Linked DNA regions of Homo sapiens: regions 1, 3, 4, 5 and 6 are each linked to region 2. The links are contacts of gene promoters, found by promoter capture Hi-C in human tissues and cell types (Jung and others, 2019). All regions are on one chromosome and are shown on one strand. The core of a region is centred on a gene start or on the middle of the fragment in contact, and the rest is flanking DNA. Distances in the headings are between cores, read along the strand shown. Region 1 holds the start of BAX (BCL2 associated X, apoptosis regulator). Region 2 holds the start of ADM5 (adrenomedullin 5 (putative)). Region 3 overlaps GYS1 (glycogen synthase 1). Region 4 overlaps PPFIA3 (PPFI scaffold protein A3). Region 5 overlaps LOC105372437 (a long non-coding RNA gene). Region 6 overlaps RUVBL2 (RuvB like AAA ATPase 2).

Region 1 (2,700 bases), core at 101-2,600, 730 kb before region 2:
CTCAATGAATTGTAAATATGTGTATACCCGGCCGGGCACAGTGGCTCACGCCTGTAATCCCAGCACTTTGGGAGGCCGAGGCAGGTGGATCACTTGAGGTCAGGAGCTTGAGACCAGCCTGACCAACATAGTGAAACCCCATCTTTACTAAAAATACAAAATTAGCTGGGCGTGGTGTCGCATGCCTGCAATTCCAGCTACTTGGGAGGCTGAGGCAGGAGAATTGCTTGAACCCGGAGGCAGAGGTTGCAGTAAGCCGAGATCGTGCCATTGCACTCCATCCTGGGCAACAAGAGCAAAACTCCGTCTCAAAATAATAATAATAATAATAATAATAATAATAATAATAATGTGTATACCCATGTAAACACCATTCAGATAAAAATATGGCATATTTGGGGCACCCGGGGAGTGTCTCTTGTGGCCCCTCCCCTCCATACCCTGCTGATCTATCAGCACAGATTAGTTTCTGCCACTTTTTAAACTTCATATTCCTTTTCTTTTTACACAAACACAAACATTCGAGTCATGACTGGGTGGGGTGGCTCAAGCCTGTAATCTCAGCACTTTGGGAGGCCAAGGTGCGAGGATCGCTTGAGTCTGGGAGTTCAGAGACCAGCCTGGGCAACATAGAGAGACCTCATCTCCACATAAAAAGTTTTAAAAATTAACCAGGGGCGGTGTAGTCCCAGCTACTCAGGAGGCTGAGGTGGGAGGCTTCAGCCCGGGAATTCCAGACTGCAGTGAGCCATGATTGGGCCACTGCACTCCAGCCTGGGCAACACAGTGAGACCCTGTCTCAAAAAAAAAAAAAAAAAAAACAGGAAAAAACAAACAAACAGAAAAGCAGGCCTGGCGCGGTAGCTCATGCCTGTAATCCCAGCGCTTTGGAAGGCTGAGACGGGGTTATCTCTTGGGCTCACAAGTTAGAGACAAGCCTGGGCGTGGGCTATATTGCTAGATCCAGGTCTCTGCAAAAAACAAAACCACTCAGTTTTTAGTCATCTATAACGTCCTGCCTGGAAGCATGCTATTTTGGGCCTCTGAGCTTTTGCACTTGCTAATTCCTTCTGCGCTGGGGAGAGCTCAAACCCTGCCCGAAACTTCTAAAAATGGTGCCTGGATAAATGAAGGCATTAGAGCTGCGATTGGACGGACGGCTGTTGGACGGCGCCACTGCTGGCACTTATCGGGAGATGCTCATTGGACAGTCACGTGACGGGACCAAACCTCCCGAGGGAGCGAGGCAGGTGCGGTCACGTGACCCGGCGGCGCTGCGGGGCAGCGGCCATTTTGCGGGGCGGCCACGTGAAGGACGCACGTTCAGCGGGGCTCTCACGTGACCCGGGCGCGCTGCGGCCGCCCGCGCGGACCCGGCGAGAGGCGGCGGCGGGAGCGGCGGTGATGGACGGGTCCGGGGAGCAGCCCAGAGGCGGGGGTGAGGCGGGAGGCAGACGGGCGGGAGGAGGGCGAGCCCCCTCGCCGGCCCGTCCGGGATCCTTCCTACCGGCCTGGGGCTGTGCGATCTCCAAGCACTGAGGGGCAGAAACTCCCGGATCGGGCGCTGCCAGCCTCCAGTCCCCTCCGTCCTCGGAGGTTCCTGGCTCTCTGATCCCCGTGTCCCGATCCCTGCCTCTCTGGCGCTCTCGGACCCTCGAGAACCAGGGGATCTCGGAAGCCAAGCCCCCGGGCAGGCCCGGGCTTGTCGCCCGCACCACTTCCTGCCTCTGGCACTGGTGGGAGGGGCGGGTCTCGCCTCTGCCCCCTCAGGCCAGGGGTCTGGATGCATATAGCGTTCCCCTAGCCTCTTTCCCCGGGGAGAATGTAGGATACAGGCCCAGCCTCCTGGCCTTTCTCCATCAGGGACTCAGTTGTCTGGGCCCCCCCGTCACTTTATCTGCTAGGGTCCCAGAAGTCCAGGGTCCCCAGCTCTGTCCTCCCTCAGGGGCCGTGAGTCTCCACAGTCTCCTGATCCCCTAGAACCCAAGAGTCCAGGTACCTCTTCCCTTCCTTTCTCCTCTAGGGCCCACCAGCTCTGAGCAGATCATGAAGACAGGGGCCCTTTTGCTTCAGGGGTGAGTTTGAGGTCTGATTATTGTGGCACAGATTTGAGGAGTGACACCCCGTTCTGATTCTGCACCCTCACTCCATCCCCACTCTAGTTTCATCCAGGATCGAGCAGGGCGAATGGGGGGGGAGGCACCCGAGCTGGCCCTGGACCCGGTGCCTCAGGATGCGTCCACCAAGAAGCTGAGCGAGTGTCTCAAGCGCATCGGGGACGAACTGGACAGTAACATGGAGCTGCAGAGGTGTGGGCCCCTGAGGACCCAGAAGTCCAGCCACTGGGCTCCTTCAGGACACAGGACTCTCAGCCCCGCATTCTCCTCCTCCCCTAAGAACTAGGAGTCTGGGCCCCACAACTCAGCGCAAACATTCCGGACTCCCAGCCCTCCTCTCTGCCAGGATCTTAAAACCCTCCTTCAGGGAGTCATTTTTCCCACCTTCCTAAATGTCTGTCTTGTCCCCTTCCCTTGTCCCCCGTTGGCCTGTTGCTTTTCATTTCAGCCTGGCTTGGGGCTCAGTCTCCTTATCTTTAGTGTGCGGTGGATGCGGGAATTTTCCACCATCAGCCTGATGCCTGCTCCCCGGCACTGGTTCTCCTCTCTCCTGCAGGATGATTGCCGCCGTGGACACAGACTC
Region 2 (2,700 bases), core at 63-2,562:
GAGCGTTCCTAGGCGGTTTCGGGGCTCCCCCTTCCTCTCCCTCCCTCCCGCAGAAGGGGGTTTTAGGGGCCTGGGCTGGGGGGATGGGGAGGGCACATCGTGACTGTGTTTTTCATAACTTATGTTTTTATATGGTTGCATTTACGCCAATAAATCCTCAGCTGGGGTCTGGCTTTGTTTCCTGGGGGCAAAGGAGGTTTGGGGTTCCTTTCGCAGGTACTGCAGTGCCAGCCTCAGCAGTGGGGGGACCGGCCTTGGCACCTGCTGGTGGCTGCCATTCTGTGGATCTGCGTCTCCCGTCCCCCGTCTCTAGGCCTCTTGCTCCCCTTCCTTGGTTCCTTCTCGGGGTCCCTGTCCTCCACAGCTGTCTCTCAGGGTCTTTGTCCAACTCTTTTCATCCCTCTCCTGGGTCTGCGCCCCTCCCCTCTGCGGTACCCGTGTCCTGCCTAGTAGGGGATGGGGGTGGCTTTCCAGCACAGCCAGCCCTCAAGTTTCCCAGAACAGTCTCCCCACCTCCCCCCAACACTCGACATTGTTCCTCTCTGGCTGTTTTTTCCTGTTCGGGTCCCTTCAAGGCCCAACTGTGCCCAGCCCTCTGCAGCTGGGGACACTGAGTGGGTTGGGGGTGTATGTTTGCAAGGATAGAATTTCTCATGGGGGAGTGGCCCTGCTTCCTCCCCTAGAATGGCTTGGGGCTTAGGGCTGGGGACTTGCCCTCCATGGAGGTCAGTGGGAGTTGCAGCTGTAAGGTGGCAGGGCCTACCCATCTTACAGAGGTGAAGACGAGGTCCCTCTGCCTCTGCTGCAGACATGGCGTCTGCACCCACCCTTCCACCCTCAGGGCCTGGCCACGGGGTCCTGGGTCCCCCACAATACTGTGCACTCGACCTGGTTGACCCAGGACACCCTCCTCGTTGAACAGCCCTGGCTACACCTGCTTCAGTGCAACTGGAGCCCTCACCGGCGAGTGCCTGACACCTCGGCCTTTTCTCTTCCGGAGGGGCGCTCCTCAGTGTGTTTGGGGTCTCCCTCGCTCCACGCCCTCCAGGGGGCCGCATGTGCACTTGCCCTGCATTGCCTGGCCCCCGAGGTTCCAGGGTCCCAACTGTCTACTAACCGGCTTCCCGACAGGGTGAGGGTGAGGTCGCATCTACAACCAGAGCCAGCGCTTCCCCGCCGCCACCCCTTTTCTTGGAATCCCGCTGCTTAGCTACCTGCGGGTGTCATTGGCCCCGCCCCATTTCCCCACGCTTTGAAGGGGGCGAGTCTCCACAGACCTCCTAGGGGGATAGACAGCAGCTGGTGTGACCCCACACACCCAGTGAGGTCTCTGGAGCCGCGGTGCGGGAAGCGGGGACCCGGGTTTGAATCCTGCCCCTCTGGTGTGGTGCGGCCTCTTCCCACAGACTTTTGGCCTCAGTGTTCCCCGCCTGGGAAGTGGGGACTGGCCCTGGTACCTGGCTCCAGAGCTGCACCCAGAGGCGATCAGCCCGGTGCGGGAACGGGGCGGGGTGGCCGCAACTACGGGCCACGGATCCTGACCCGCCCTGCCCACGATGACTATCCACATCCTCATCCTGCTGTTGCTCCTCGCCTTCTCCGCCCAAGGGGACCTGGACACTGCAGCCAGGTGAGAAACCCGGGTGGCAGCAGGGACAGGGCGGGAGGGAGACCGTAAAGGGCGAGCGCCCTCTCCCGGCCGCGGAACGGGCAGGTGATCTGTAAGCCTCCCCGCTGGTCTTGGAGTGCTTGGGTGCCCACCTCCATCACGCTCCATCTCTCAATTCGGTTTGAACCCGGTTTTCTCCCACGCTCCCTCTCCAGGCGAGGCCAGCACCAGGTCCCCCAGCACCGCGGGCACGTCTGCTACCTGGGCGTATGCCGGACCCACCGCCTGGCGGAGATCATATACTGGATTCGCTGTCTCCACCAAGGAGCCCTCGGGGAAGGCCAGCCACGAGCCCCAGGACCCCTACAGCTATGGGCGCCGCCGGTGGCGCGAGGCGGAAGCCCGGCTCGGTTCCCAGGATTCCGGCCTGCAGCGAGGGGGCTAGCGCAGTGCCCAGCTCGCTGGGTGACCTCGGGCACGGCTCGTCCCCTCCTCGGCTTCAGTTTGCCTATCTGTATGTTGGAGCTTCTACTCCACATTTCTTCTCCCCTAACTCCAGCCCCTGAAACCGTCTTCCCCAGTCCCTCCCCGGGCTGCGACTAGGTTGGACCTAGAAGCACACGGGACCAGGCTGGGCGAAGAACACTGACGCCCAGAGCCGAATAAACAAGAGTTCCGTGTTTCAGTCTCTGCTTCTCTGTACCTATTTCGACCTCTCAGTCGAGGCTGGGTCTCTAATATACCTTTCTCTATTAGCCATGCTGCTTCTCCCTCACGGAAGTCCCACTGTCTACCTTGAATCCAACCCGCTGTGGCGCCTTTCTTGCCAACTCAATCCATGCACCTTCCGTGGGTGGTTTTGGCGGGCCGTCCTGACCCCCAAACATCCCTCCTCCCTCCCTGGCGTGAAAGGGCTGAGATTTGCTCCGGCACCCTACGCGCCTGACGTTATAATGCACCTGGGGTGGGCTGCGACCTCCCAGCTGAGCCTTGTTCCTCGAAGAGACAGGAGACTAAGAGACAATGAGCTGAGTGAGGAGCCCAGGAACCCGGGTTCCGAACAGCTGCGTAGAATGCGAGCGGCCAAATGG
Region 3 (2,700 bases), core at 134-2,633, 700 kb before region 2:
AGCACCACCAGAGGGCCTCCCTCGATCAGCCAGCGCCCGAAATACACCTGGGATGGGGTTGGGGAGGCACCATAGGGAGGCTCTGGGCTTCAGCCTCATATCTTCACTCATCCGTGGTTCTCCCATTTGCAGGCAGATGTCTATAGACTTAAGCCTCAGCTCTCTTATCTTCTGTTTCCATATCTGCTGCTAATTTCTCACCTGCTGCCTTAGCCTTACTTCTCTATTTGCATGATTTATTCCTGCTACACATTTTTTCCATCTCTGTTGCAATATTTTCCGTGCCCCCTGCTTACTTTCTTTCTTTCTTTTTTTTGAGATGGAGTCTCACTCTGTGGCCCAGGCTGGAGTGCAGTGGTGCGATCTCAGCTCACTGCAACCTCTGTCTCCCGGGTTCAAGCAATTCTCCTGCCTCAGCCTCCCAAGTAGCTGGGATTACAGGCACCCGCTCCCACACCTGGCTAATTTTTTTTTTTTCTTGAGACGGAGTCTGGCTCTGTTGCCCAGGCTGGAGTGCCGTGGCATGATCTCGGCTCACTGCAACCTCTGCCTCCTGGGTTCACACCATTCTCCTGCCTCAGCCTCCCGAGTAGCTGGGACTACAGCGGCCCGCCACCACGCCCGGCTACTTTTTTTTGTATTTTCAGTAGAGACGAGGTTTCACTGTGTTAGCCAGGATGATCTCCATTTCCCGACCTTGTGATCCGCCCGCCTCGGCGTCCCAAAGTGCTGGGATTACAGGCGTGAGCCACCGCACCCAGCCTCCTGTTTAATTCCTGTAACTGCTACCCTTCTCCCACTCGCTGCCTCCTTTCTCTGCTTATAACCACATATGTCACATGTCCTGTGTCTATGCCCCCACTGCCCTGTCTGGCCACTCTGCAAATCATTTCCCCTACCTGCTGCCTTGTTTCTGTACTTGCTGCCACATTTCTCTTACCAACCATCTGCATCTCCCACTGTCTTTTCTTTCTGATGCTAATTCCTTCCACGGGATGCTTCTTTTTTGTTTTCAGACAGGGTCTCGCTCTGTTGCCCAGGCTGGAGTGCAGTGGTGTGAACATGGTTCACTATAGCCTCAACCTCCCTGGCTCAGTCAATCCTCCCACCTCACCTCCTACAGGCGTGGGCCACCATGCCAGGCTGATTTTTTAATTTTTTGTGGAGATGGGGTCTCACTATGTTGCCCAGGCTGATCGTGAACTCCTGCGTTCAAGCAGTTTTCTTGCTTAGCCTCCCAAAGTGTTGAGATTAGAAGTGTGAGCCACCTAAAGCAGGCCCTTTTTTATTTTCAGAGACGGGGTCTTGCTCTGTCCTCCAGCCTGGAAGGGAGTGGTGCAATTACGGTTCACTGAAGCTTCGATCTCCCAGGCTCAAGCAATCCTTCCACCGCAGCTTCCCACGTAGCTGGGACCACAGGCACAAGGTATCACATCCCGGCTAATTTTTAACTTTTTTGTAAGGACAGGGTTTCACCATGTTGCCCAGGCTGGTCTCAAACTCCTGGCCTCAGCCTACCAAAGTGCTGGGATTACAGGCGTGAGCTACTGCACCCAGCCTGTAATGATTCTCTTACTGTTCATGCTGCCACTTTTCTTCCCCATGATGCCTTGTTTCTGTTCCTTTCATCACATATCTGTCACCTGCGACCTCTTTCCTCTATCCATAGGCCCATTTTGTAGTCCACAGCCTCCTTCCTTCCTTCCTTGCTTCCTTCCTTCCTTCCTTCCCTCTCTCCCTCCTTCCCTCCCTCTCTCCTTTTTCTTTCTTTCTTCCATTTTTTTTTGTTTGTTTTTGTTTTTGACAGGGTCTCACTCCGGTCACCCAGGCTGGAGTGCAGTGGTGCAATCATGGCTCACTGGGCTGGGCGCGGTGGCTCACGCCTGTAATCCTAGCTCTTTGGGGGGCCGAGGCGGGCGGATTGCCTGAGCTCAGGAGTTTGAGACCAGCCTGGGCAACATGGTGAAACCCTGTCTCTACTAAAATACAAAAAATTAGCCGGGCGTGGCAGCATGTGCCTGAGGTCCCAGCTACTTGGGAGGCCGAGGCAGGAGAATTGCTTGAACGCGGGAGGCGGAGGTTGCAGTGAGTCGAGATTGTACCACTGCACTCCAGACTCAGCGACAGAGTGAGATTCTATCTGAAAAAAAAAAAAAAAAAATTATGGCTCACTACAGCCTCCACATCCCATCCTCCCACCTCAGCCTCCTGAGTAACTGGGATCACGAGCACGCACCATCATGCCTGGCTAATTTTTTGTATTTTTAGTAGAGACAGAGTTTCGCCATGTTGCCCAGGTGGGTCAGGAACTCCTGGGCTCAAGCTATCCTCTCACCTCGGCCTCCCAAAGTGCTGGGATTCCAGGCATGAGCCACCGCCCTCGGCCACGCCACACATTTCTAACATAGCCCATCCTCTGTCCGTGCCCCAGGGCTGCATTTTTCTAGCCACTGCCGTGTTTCTAAGACTTGCTGTCTCACTTCTGCCTCTGCCACATTTCTCCAGTTGGCTGTTTTCCTCCCTGAGACCATGGCTTTGGTTCTGGGCCTGCTGCCACAGCAGTGGAGAAGCAGCCCCGCTCCTCGCCGACCTGGCTTTTTGCTGCCTGGAGCCTCGCTCTGAGGTCCCTCCCCCTCCCAGCTGTTGTCTGCCCTTTTGCTGGGGGGGGGGGGGGGCTATTCTTAGGCCCCCAGCACGTGG
Region 4 (2,700 bases), core at 168-2,667, 540 kb before region 2:
CTACAGGTGTGAGCCACCACGCCTGGCCACAGTTGTTAATTTCATTTACTATTCACTCTGTATTCAAATTTCCCCAACATACTTAAAATATGTTCATTGTTTCTCCCCCACTAGGACGAAAAGTGTCTGTCGTGTCCCTTGCCATATCCCACACCCTATGACGGTGACTGGTGCCTGACACTCACCAGAAGTACATAAATGTTTTTATCCTTGTATGGATTCCTAACTCGTGAGGTTGTTGGGAGCAGAAGCTCAATAAATGTGAACCCCCCCCGCCATACTCCCTAAACATTTGCACCATGGCTGTGTCTGTCCCCCACTTCTGAATCCTCATTCTGTACCTCTGTGTGAGGTCAGCGAGGTGACGTCATTTGCACAGGGCCACACAGCAAAATGCATGGCAGGGTCCCAATTCCAACCTGAATTTGTTCAACTCCAAAGTCACATTGCCTGGTACATGGCAGGTGCCCTATAATAAGAATCATTCCTTTTCTCTGTTACTGCTTGCCCCAGAAAGCAGGAGGGACATAAACGTGTGGCCCAGGGCCTTCAGGAGGACACCCTCCTTCCTCTCCCCCACGCGAAGCCCTCTCCCACCATCCATTAACACTCCCTGCCCCTCAGTCCACAGGAAACGTGTGGATGACACACGAGGAGATGGAGTCCCTTACGGCCACGACCAAGCCCGTGAGTGCCCCCTGCCGGCCGCCTTGGGGGTGGCACTAACCTTCTTTGGGGGTGGGGGCGGGGACCGAGTCTGTGGCCATCCCTAAGTCCGCTCCTTGCGTCCTCCTCTGCCTGCCCCTTAACTCACCCCTTCTCTCCCCTCTTCCTACTAACGGGTCAGGAGACCAAGGAGATCAGCTGGGAGCAGGTAGGGGGCGCGGGGCGGGGCGTGAGCGCATGAACAGGCTGTGCACGACGCATGGATGCCCCTCCTCCGAGCCCTGCCCCTGCCTTCACCAGAACATGCCATCATCCCCATGGGGGGGCGCTGCGCCAAGCTTGGCTCTGGACTGTTCCATTATGGCTTGGCGGTGGGGAGGGTAGAGGGGATGCGATGTGGAAGCCCAGACTGTTGCATAGTCAGCCTTATGCATGGACCATTTCATCATCGTGGGTTGTGGGGGCTCTAAGGGGCTTCAATTCTGTAGCTCAGGAGAGACTGAGCAGCCGGTGTCCCTATAGTGGAGGGGGCGGGGGCTACAGTGGACTGCTCAGTGTACCAGGGCCAAGGAGGACACACTGGCTGTGGTGGTGGTGAGGCAGCCAGGCTGAATGAGAAGTTGGGGAGGAGGAGCTACACTTTGTTCTCAAGAAACAAGAGGCGGCCGGGCGCAGTGGCTCACGCCTGTAATTCCAGCACTTTAGGAGGCTGAGGTGGGCAGATCACCTGAGGTCAGGAGTTTGAGACCAGTCTGGCCAACATGGTGAAACCCTGTGTCTACTAAAAATACAAAAATTAGCCGGGTGCAGTGGCTAGCGTATGTAATCCCAGCTACTTGGGAGGCTGAGGCAGGAGAATCGCTTGAACCCAGGAGGTAGAGGTTGCACTGAGCCGAGATTGCACCATTGTACTCCAGCCTGGGTGATAGAGCCAGATTCCATCTCATAAAAACCAAACAAATAAACTAACAAAAAAACCCAAGAGGCATGAACTCACTGTCCACGGAGGAATTATGTTTGACTGTGGTCATAGATCACATATTTCCAGCCAGGGGGAGGCGTGGATTTTGTGCTGATGCTGAAAGGAGTGAGGGACTTGGGACTCATCTGGAATATTGTCCTGGGCCAGATATAACATTAGACAAGTATTTTCAGGACATTGCAAGAGTGATGGCCCTTTCTTAGTGGGAGAGCTGCCTTGAAAGAGTCCATTGTCCTGACTTGGGGGTTTAGTGACGTTGGACTGCAGTGAGACAGAGTTAAAGCAGTGCTTCCCCAAATTTAATGTGTAGTGGGGTGGCACACACCTGTAGTCTCAGCTACTTGGAAGACTGAGGCAGGAGGACCGCTTGAGCCCACGAAGCTGAGGTCAACCTGGGCAACATAGTAAGACCCTGTCTCTAAAAAATAAACAAATACAGCCAGGCGCGGTGGCTCATGCCTGTAATCCCAGCACGTTGGGAGGCTGAGGTGGGCGGATCCCTTGAGGTCAGGAGTTTGAGACCAGCCTGGCCAACATGGTGAAACGCCGTCTCTACTAAAAAATACAAAAATTAGCCGGGCGTGGTGGCTCGTACCTGTAATCCCAGCTACTCGAAGGCTGAGGCAAGAGAATTGCTTGAACCTGGGATGGGGAGGTTGCAGTGAGACGAGATCGTGCCACCGCGCTCCAGCCTGGGTGACATAGCAGACTCTTTCAGAAAGAGAGAGAGAGAGAGAGAGAGAGAAAGAGAGAAAGAAAGAAATTTAAAAATAAATATAATGTATATTTCGAATCACCTGAGGGTCTTGTGAAAATGCCGATACCGACTTCAGTAGGTCTGGAGTAAGGTCTGAGATTCTGCAATTCCAGCAAGTCCACAGGTGATGGTGACGCTCTAGGTCTCAGGACAACTGTTTGAGTAGCCAAGAGTATATGCTGTCATGAAGGGCTAGGAGACAACTCTGGATTGGTCCATTATCCTGAGCAGAGATTGGTCATTGTCCTACCATGGGGTGGGAAAAAACCTTGGATTGGGAGGTTGGACTGTACCC
Region 5 (2,700 bases), core at 143-2,642, 660 kb after region 2:
AAACTCCTCCTTCAGCTGCTAGCAAGTAGTCGAGAGCTAGTCTATTTTGGTAGATAGCATTCCTCATCTGAGTCTCTTGCCGGGCAAGAACAGTCAAGGCTTGACCAGTTTAATTAGTAATAATTTCTAAAACAGCTTGCAACTGTATGATTCAGTTGAGCATGTAGATGGGGGTCCAATATCCCTATGAGCCATCTTATGCCCAAGTGGCGGGCCCATAGTATTGTATAATTCTTTCAGGGGGCCATCATCATCTTTCCAGTTACCTATGGCTATGCTTCGTTTTTCACGGGAAGCATAGACAGGGAATCCTAAGAGTTTGTTGTTTTTATGGGCAGCAGGAAGAAAGATGGTTTAATAGTGCCAATTACACAGCTACCTGTCTACTGATCAGATAGCTTAGCATAAGCTCTATGTCCACATATCCAGTATAACCCAGTAGGGGCAGTCCAGTCCCAGTGGAATTCTGGGTGGGCCTAAACAGTCTGCAATTTTGGAAATTTACGGAATGGATTTTTTTCCGTGTAATTGGAACTCCACCATGTAACTGTTTTTGTGGTACCATTATACAGTTTTTGTCCAAGACAACTAACCTGTCCTACAGGATGAGTGAATTCTTTTCCTTCTCTAGCTATGCAACATTGTCCAATAATTGAGGCTTTTAGAACCCAGAAATTGTCAGGGTGGTTCTTTTGGGCCGAGAATTCATCAGGAACTGGGTCTGTAGGAACTCATTCTCGGGCTTCCCATGGCCACTGATCTCCTGTTACAGTTGCTCCACAAACAAAACACGAAGTGACTTTTAGAGACTGGGCTACATGCTCGGCTAACTGCAAAAACAAATGTCTAGTTTTTCCTGGAATTTCAGGCACTGGCACATTTTGTTCATCATAGAAAGTGTGAAATACTGGCTCTGGAGAGCATGTTCGAACCTCTCCTTTTATTAAAATGTTTACCCTAGGGTCTAGTCTTTTTCCATCAATGCCTAGAGATAAGTATTTTCCTTTTTTCTATTTTGGGTCTGAGGGGCTTGTGATTACTAATTTTAAAGGGTTGCAGCTTCCACTCATGCAGGACAGGCTTCCTTTCCCTTTTTGGAGCAAAACAGGATCTTTTTCATTTTTTTTTTCCCAAGTAGCCTAAATGACACAAGACCAGTACCCACATTCTTTTCCACACAATCCTGATTCATGACAGATGTACTTATTTTCGGTCATGTAGTTTTTTCCTAATTAAAAGAGCCACATCCTGCTCCTAACTTATTGCTATTAATGACAGCACAGCGTCAAATCTTAAGATTATGCATTTGGGCACCCCTTTTTCTTCTGTTCTGGCTAATACTTTACTTGTATCATTTATGAGTCCCTGCCAGTGTTCAGTCCTTAATCTTATTTCAAAAACTGTGGAAATGGGAGGTTCAGAGGGGTCATAGCACACATCGGGCTGGTCACTTCCTGGATCACAGACTTTGTACTGAGTGTTATTATACAAACATGTTCCTTTTGGAATTCCTAGGCCTTCATAATAACTATAGAACAAAAAGATTGTCTTAACTTGTTGTCCTACCTCAGTGACCTGAGGTATGCACTGAAAGCAGTCCTCTGTGTGGGAAGAAGCAGTGGAAGCTTTTACCACACAAGTCCGTGTTATAAGGAAAGTAAGTCCCACGACGATTTTCCTCATGCTTCGGCCGCGAATAGGCCAGTCAGCTTCCGGGTGTGACTGGAGCAGGGCTTGTCGTCCTCCTCAGGGTTACTTTGCAGGGATTGTCTAGGCCTGGTTTGGCCTCCCAGGTTCCAGTGGCTGCAGGCTTTCCGCAGCTGTGGTGAATCCCGGCCGGAATTCCTTCTACCTTCACAGCCGTGGGAGTGGTCAGGATAACGGTCTGGGGTCCCTTCCACTATGGCCCTAAGGGAGCTACGTTCCAGTCCTTGATCCACACGCGGTCACCTGGAGAAAAAGGGTGAACTGGGGAGAATAAGCTGACCGGGCACCTCATTTACCCAAGTTGAGATTGTCTCGGTAATTTTCCCCAAGGCCTGTAGCTGTCGCTGCAATTCAATTTCACCCAACTCTTGGGGAGTACCCAGAAGCCCTCGCGGCATAGGAGGAGGCCTATGATATAATATTTCATAAGGGGAGTGTCCTGTTTTCTTAGAGGGGGTGCACCTGTTTTAAACAATACCATAGGAAGGGCCTGTATCCATTTTAATCTTGTCTCTTGACATACTTTCCTTAAACTATTTTTGATAGTCCGACTCATTCGCTCCACCTTCCCAGAACTCTGAGGTCGGCAGGCAGCATGTAGACTTGTTTGTACCTGTCCTTCTTGGGAAGGCTTTCCAGGTATTCAAAAGGACTTGAGGATTGTGATCTAAGCCATATCTGTATCAGGGGGCCTCCCAAGCCTATTAATGCTGTGGTTTTTGTTTGTTTTGTTTTTTTGAGACAGAGTCTCACTCTGTCACCCAGGCTGGAGTGCAGTGTCATGATCTCAGCTCACGGCAACCTCTGCCTCTCAGGTTCAAGCGATTCTCATGCCTCAGCCTCCCAAGCAGCTGGGATTACAGCTGTGTGCCACCACGCCTGGCTAATCTTTGTGATTTTAGCAGAGACTAGGTTTCATCATGTTGGCCAGGCTGGTCTCAAACTCTGGGCCTCAAGTGATCCATTCACCTCAGCCTCCCAGAGTGTTGGGAT
Region 6 (2,700 bases), core at 54-2,553, 680 kb before region 2:
CTGCCTCCTTCCCAGGCATGGCGCAGGCCCTGGGCCCTGACACGCCATTCACAGCCATCGCCGGCAGTGAAATCTTCTCCCTGGAGATGAGCAAGACCGAGGCGCTGACGCAGGCCTTCCGGCGGTCCATCGGCGTTCGCATCAAGTAAGCGGGGGACCCGAGGCGGGTGCCAGACCCCAGAGCCTGGGAGCAACCCCGCACCCCGGGCGGCTCGTCCTTTGTCCCAGAGCTCATGGAAGGTTGTGATTCCCGAGGGTCCAGGTGTCAGGCTGTCTCCTCAGATCTGCTCTCTGGCTAGGGAGGAGACGGAGATCATCGAAGGGGAGGTGGTGGAGATCCAGATTGATCGACCAGCAACAGGGACGGTGAGTCTGTGTGAGTCTGTACCCTGCTGAGGCCACCTCCAGCGCCAGGGTTGGAGAGAGTAGATATCAGGTCTGCACTGAGGTCAGAATCCCATGGAATGTTCTAGCTGCAGACTAGAGCCATGTACATGCCTACAGTAGGAGGTCAGTTAACTTGACAATGGCTTATCCCCTTATGAAGGACATTATGGGCAATAGAAACTGAGGCGGTAAAATAATGAGAGAGATCTGTTAGTGAGTTCCCAACAGACCTCAAAACCCAACAGACTTCAAAACTCGTTCCGTGGCCGAAAGGCATGTCCTGTCCATCTTACATGATACAGGTGATTTGCTCTCTCTTTTTTTTTTGTTTTCGAGACAGAGTCTCCCTCTGTCCCCCAGACTGGAATGCAGTGGTGCAATCTCGGCTCACTGCAACCTCTGCCTCCCAGGTTCAAGTGATTCTTCTGCCTCAGCCTTCCGAGTAGCTGAGATTACAGGTGTGTGCATGCCACCACGCCCGGCTAATTTTTGTACTTTCAGTAGAGACGGGGTTTCACCATGTTGGCCAGGCTGGTCTTGAACTCCTGACCTCGTGATCTGCCCACCTTGGCCTCCCAAAGTGCTGGGATTACAGCCGTGAGCCACCATACCTGGCCTCTTTTTTTTTTTTTTTTTTTTTTTTTACAATTTCTGTTTTCTCCTTTTTGCATAGCTGTGTTTTCTGATTTTGTGATCAACAAAAACACTTTTTATTTGGGTATAAAATAGGAATGTCAAAGTGTGACATTTGGCAATTTTGCGAGACCTCGGGCCTATGTTGTTTTTGATAGACTTTATTTTTTAGGCATGTTGTTTGTTTACTATTTTTATTTTTTATTTTTATTTTATTTTATTATAATTTTTTTTTTGAGATGGAGTCTTGCTCTGTTGCCCAGGCTGGAGTGCAGTGGCACAATCTCAGCTCACGGCAAGCTCTGCCTCCCGGGTTCATGCCATTCTCCTGCCTCAGCCTCCCGAGTAGCTGGGACTACAGGCACCTGCCACCACGCCCGGCTAATTTTTTGTATTTTTAGTAGAGACGGGGTTTCACTGTGGTCTCGATCTCCTGACCTTGTGATCTGCCCGCCTCGGCCTCCCAAAGTGCTGGGATTACAGGTGTGAGCCACTGCACCCTGCCTGTTTACTATTTTTATTAAGAGCTTTATTGAGTTTTGGCCAGGCGCAGTGGCTCACACCTGTAATCCCAGCACTTTGGGAGGCTGAGGTGGGCGATCACTTGAGATCAGGAGTTCGAAACGAGCCTGACTAACATGGTGAAACCCTGTCTATACTAAAAATACAAAATGGCTGGGCGCGGTGGTTCATGCCTATAATCCCAGCACTTTGGGAGGCCGAGGCGGGTGGATCACCTGAAGTCAGGAGTTCAAGACCAGCCTGACCAACATGGTGAAACCCTGTCTCTACTAAAAATACAAAAAATTAGCTGGGCGTGGTGGTGGGTGCTTGTAATCCCAGCTACTTGGGAGGCTAAGGCAGGAGAATCGCTTGAATCTGGGAGGCAGAAGTTGCAGTAAGCCGAGATCACACCATTGCACTCCAGCCTGGGCAACAAGAGCGAAACTCCATCTCAAAAATAAATAAATAATAAAAACACAAAACAATTAGCTGGGTATGGTGGCACACATCTGTAATCCCAGCTACTTGGGAGGCTGAGGCAGGAGAACTACTTGAACCCGGGAGATGGAGGTTGGAGTGAGCTGAGATCACACCACTGCACTCCAGCCTGGGCGACAGAGCAAGACTCTATCTCAAAAAAAAAAAAAAAAAAAAAAAAAAAAAAAAAAAAGAGCTTTATTCACCAGGCGCAGTAGCTCACTCCTGTAATCCCAGCACTTTGGGAGGCCGAGGTGGGCAGATCACAAGGTCAGGAGATCGAGACCATCCTGGCTATCACAGTGAAACCCCATCTCTACTAAAAATACAAAAATTAGCCATGCGTGGTGGCGGGCGCCTGTAGTCCCAGCTACTCGGGAGGCTGAGGCAGGAGAATGGCGTGAACCCGGGAGGCAGAGCTTGCAGTGAGCCGAGATCATGCTACTACACTCCAGCGTGGGCGACAGAGCAAGACTCCGTCTCAAAAAAAAAAAGAACTTTATTGAGTTTTAATTGACATACAGAAAGCTGTACACATTGCAAGTGTCCAGTATGGTCCGTTGGGACATACATGTTCAGCCGCGGAGCCATCACCGCGTCAGGCTGGTGAGCGCACCGTATGTCTTCCCTGGAGAGCTTCCTTGTGTTGTGCCCATTTTGAAGCTGTGGAAGCAGAGGCCAGAGCAGAGCCAGAAGCTT

What was found. The method cuts DNA at HindIII sites, captures the fragments that hold promoters and counts their contacts. A contact is called where the count stands out against the background at its distance.
Region 1: a contact is called between the fragment with the promoter of BAX here and the fragment with the promoter of ADM5 in region 2, in 1 of the 25 tissues and cell types used here (spleen).
Region 3: a contact is called between a fragment that was not itself captured here and the fragment with the promoter of ADM5 in region 2, in 1 of the 25 tissues and cell types used here (dorsolateral prefrontal cortex).
Region 4: a contact is called between a fragment that was not itself captured here and the fragment with the promoter of ADM5 in region 2, in 1 of the 25 tissues and cell types used here (pancreas).
Region 5: a fragment that was not itself captured here is called in contact with the fragment with the promoter of ADM5 in region 2 in 1 of the 25 tissues and cell types used here (bladder).
Region 6: a contact is called between a fragment that was not itself captured here and the fragment with the promoter of ADM5 in region 2, in 1 of the 25 tissues and cell types used here (dorsolateral prefrontal cortex).

What each region holds. Positions count from the first base shown.
Region 1 is chr19:48,953,525-48,956,224 of GRCh38, forward strand. BAX (BCL2 associated X, apoptosis regulator) reads left to right here and starts at 1,351. Exons shown (of 6, transcript NM_138761.4): 1 at 1,351-1,438; 2 at 2,024-2,075; 3 at 2,163-2,309; 4 at 2,674-2,700. The coding sequence starts at 1,405. RefSeq lists enhancers at 1,030-1,598, 1,599-2,166, 1,616-1,825 and a silencer at 1,346-1,495. The HindIII fragment of the contact is 13,021 bases long and covers 1-2,700 here.
Region 2 is chr19:49,688,282-49,690,981 of GRCh38, forward strand. ADM5 (adrenomedullin 5 (putative)) reads left to right here and starts at 1,313. Exons shown (of 2, transcript NM_001101340.2): 1 at 1,313-1,630; 2 at 1,825-2,294. The coding sequence starts at 1,557. The coding sequence ends at 2,212. PRMT1 (protein arginine methyltransferase 1) reads left to right here. Exons shown (of 11, transcript NM_001536.6): 11 at 1-166. It also overlaps a transcript of CPT1C not described here. RefSeq lists an enhancer at 1-394 and a silencer at 1,703-1,772. The HindIII fragment of the contact is 11,781 bases long and covers 3-2,700 here.
Region 3 is chr19:48,987,339-48,990,038 of GRCh38, forward strand. It overlaps GYS1 (glycogen synthase 1), which reads right to left. Exons shown (of 16, transcript NM_002103.5): 3 at 1-47. Among named protein-coding and RNA genes, the nearest start is that of GYS1, 4.6 kb to the right of the region's middle. RefSeq lists a silencer at 1,114-1,296 and an enhancer at 2,427-2,700. The HindIII fragment of the contact is 7,422 bases long and covers 1-2,700 here.
Region 4 is chr19:49,145,319-49,148,018 of GRCh38, forward strand. PPFIA3 (PPFI scaffold protein A3) reads left to right here. Exons shown (of 30, transcript NM_003660.4): 22 at 625-687; 23 at 848-874. Among named protein-coding and RNA genes, the nearest start is that of HRC, 8.7 kb to the right of the region's middle. The HindIII fragment of the contact is 3,877 bases long and covers 1-2,700 here.
Region 5 is chr19:50,347,886-50,350,585 of GRCh38, forward strand. The region is part of intron 2 of LOC105372437 (a long non-coding RNA gene); the gene reads left to right. Among named protein-coding and RNA genes, the nearest start is that of NAPSA, 16 kb to the right of the region's middle. The HindIII fragment of the contact is 3,847 bases long and covers 1-2,700 here.
Region 6 is chr19:49,007,003-49,009,702 of GRCh38, forward strand. RUVBL2 (RuvB like AAA ATPase 2) reads left to right here. Exons shown (of 15, transcript NM_006666.3): 5 at 16-145; 6 at 300-366. Among named protein-coding and RNA genes, the nearest start is that of MIR6798, 1.6 kb to the right of the region's middle. RefSeq lists an enhancer at 2,438-2,700. The HindIII fragment of the contact is 7,286 bases long and covers 1-2,700 here.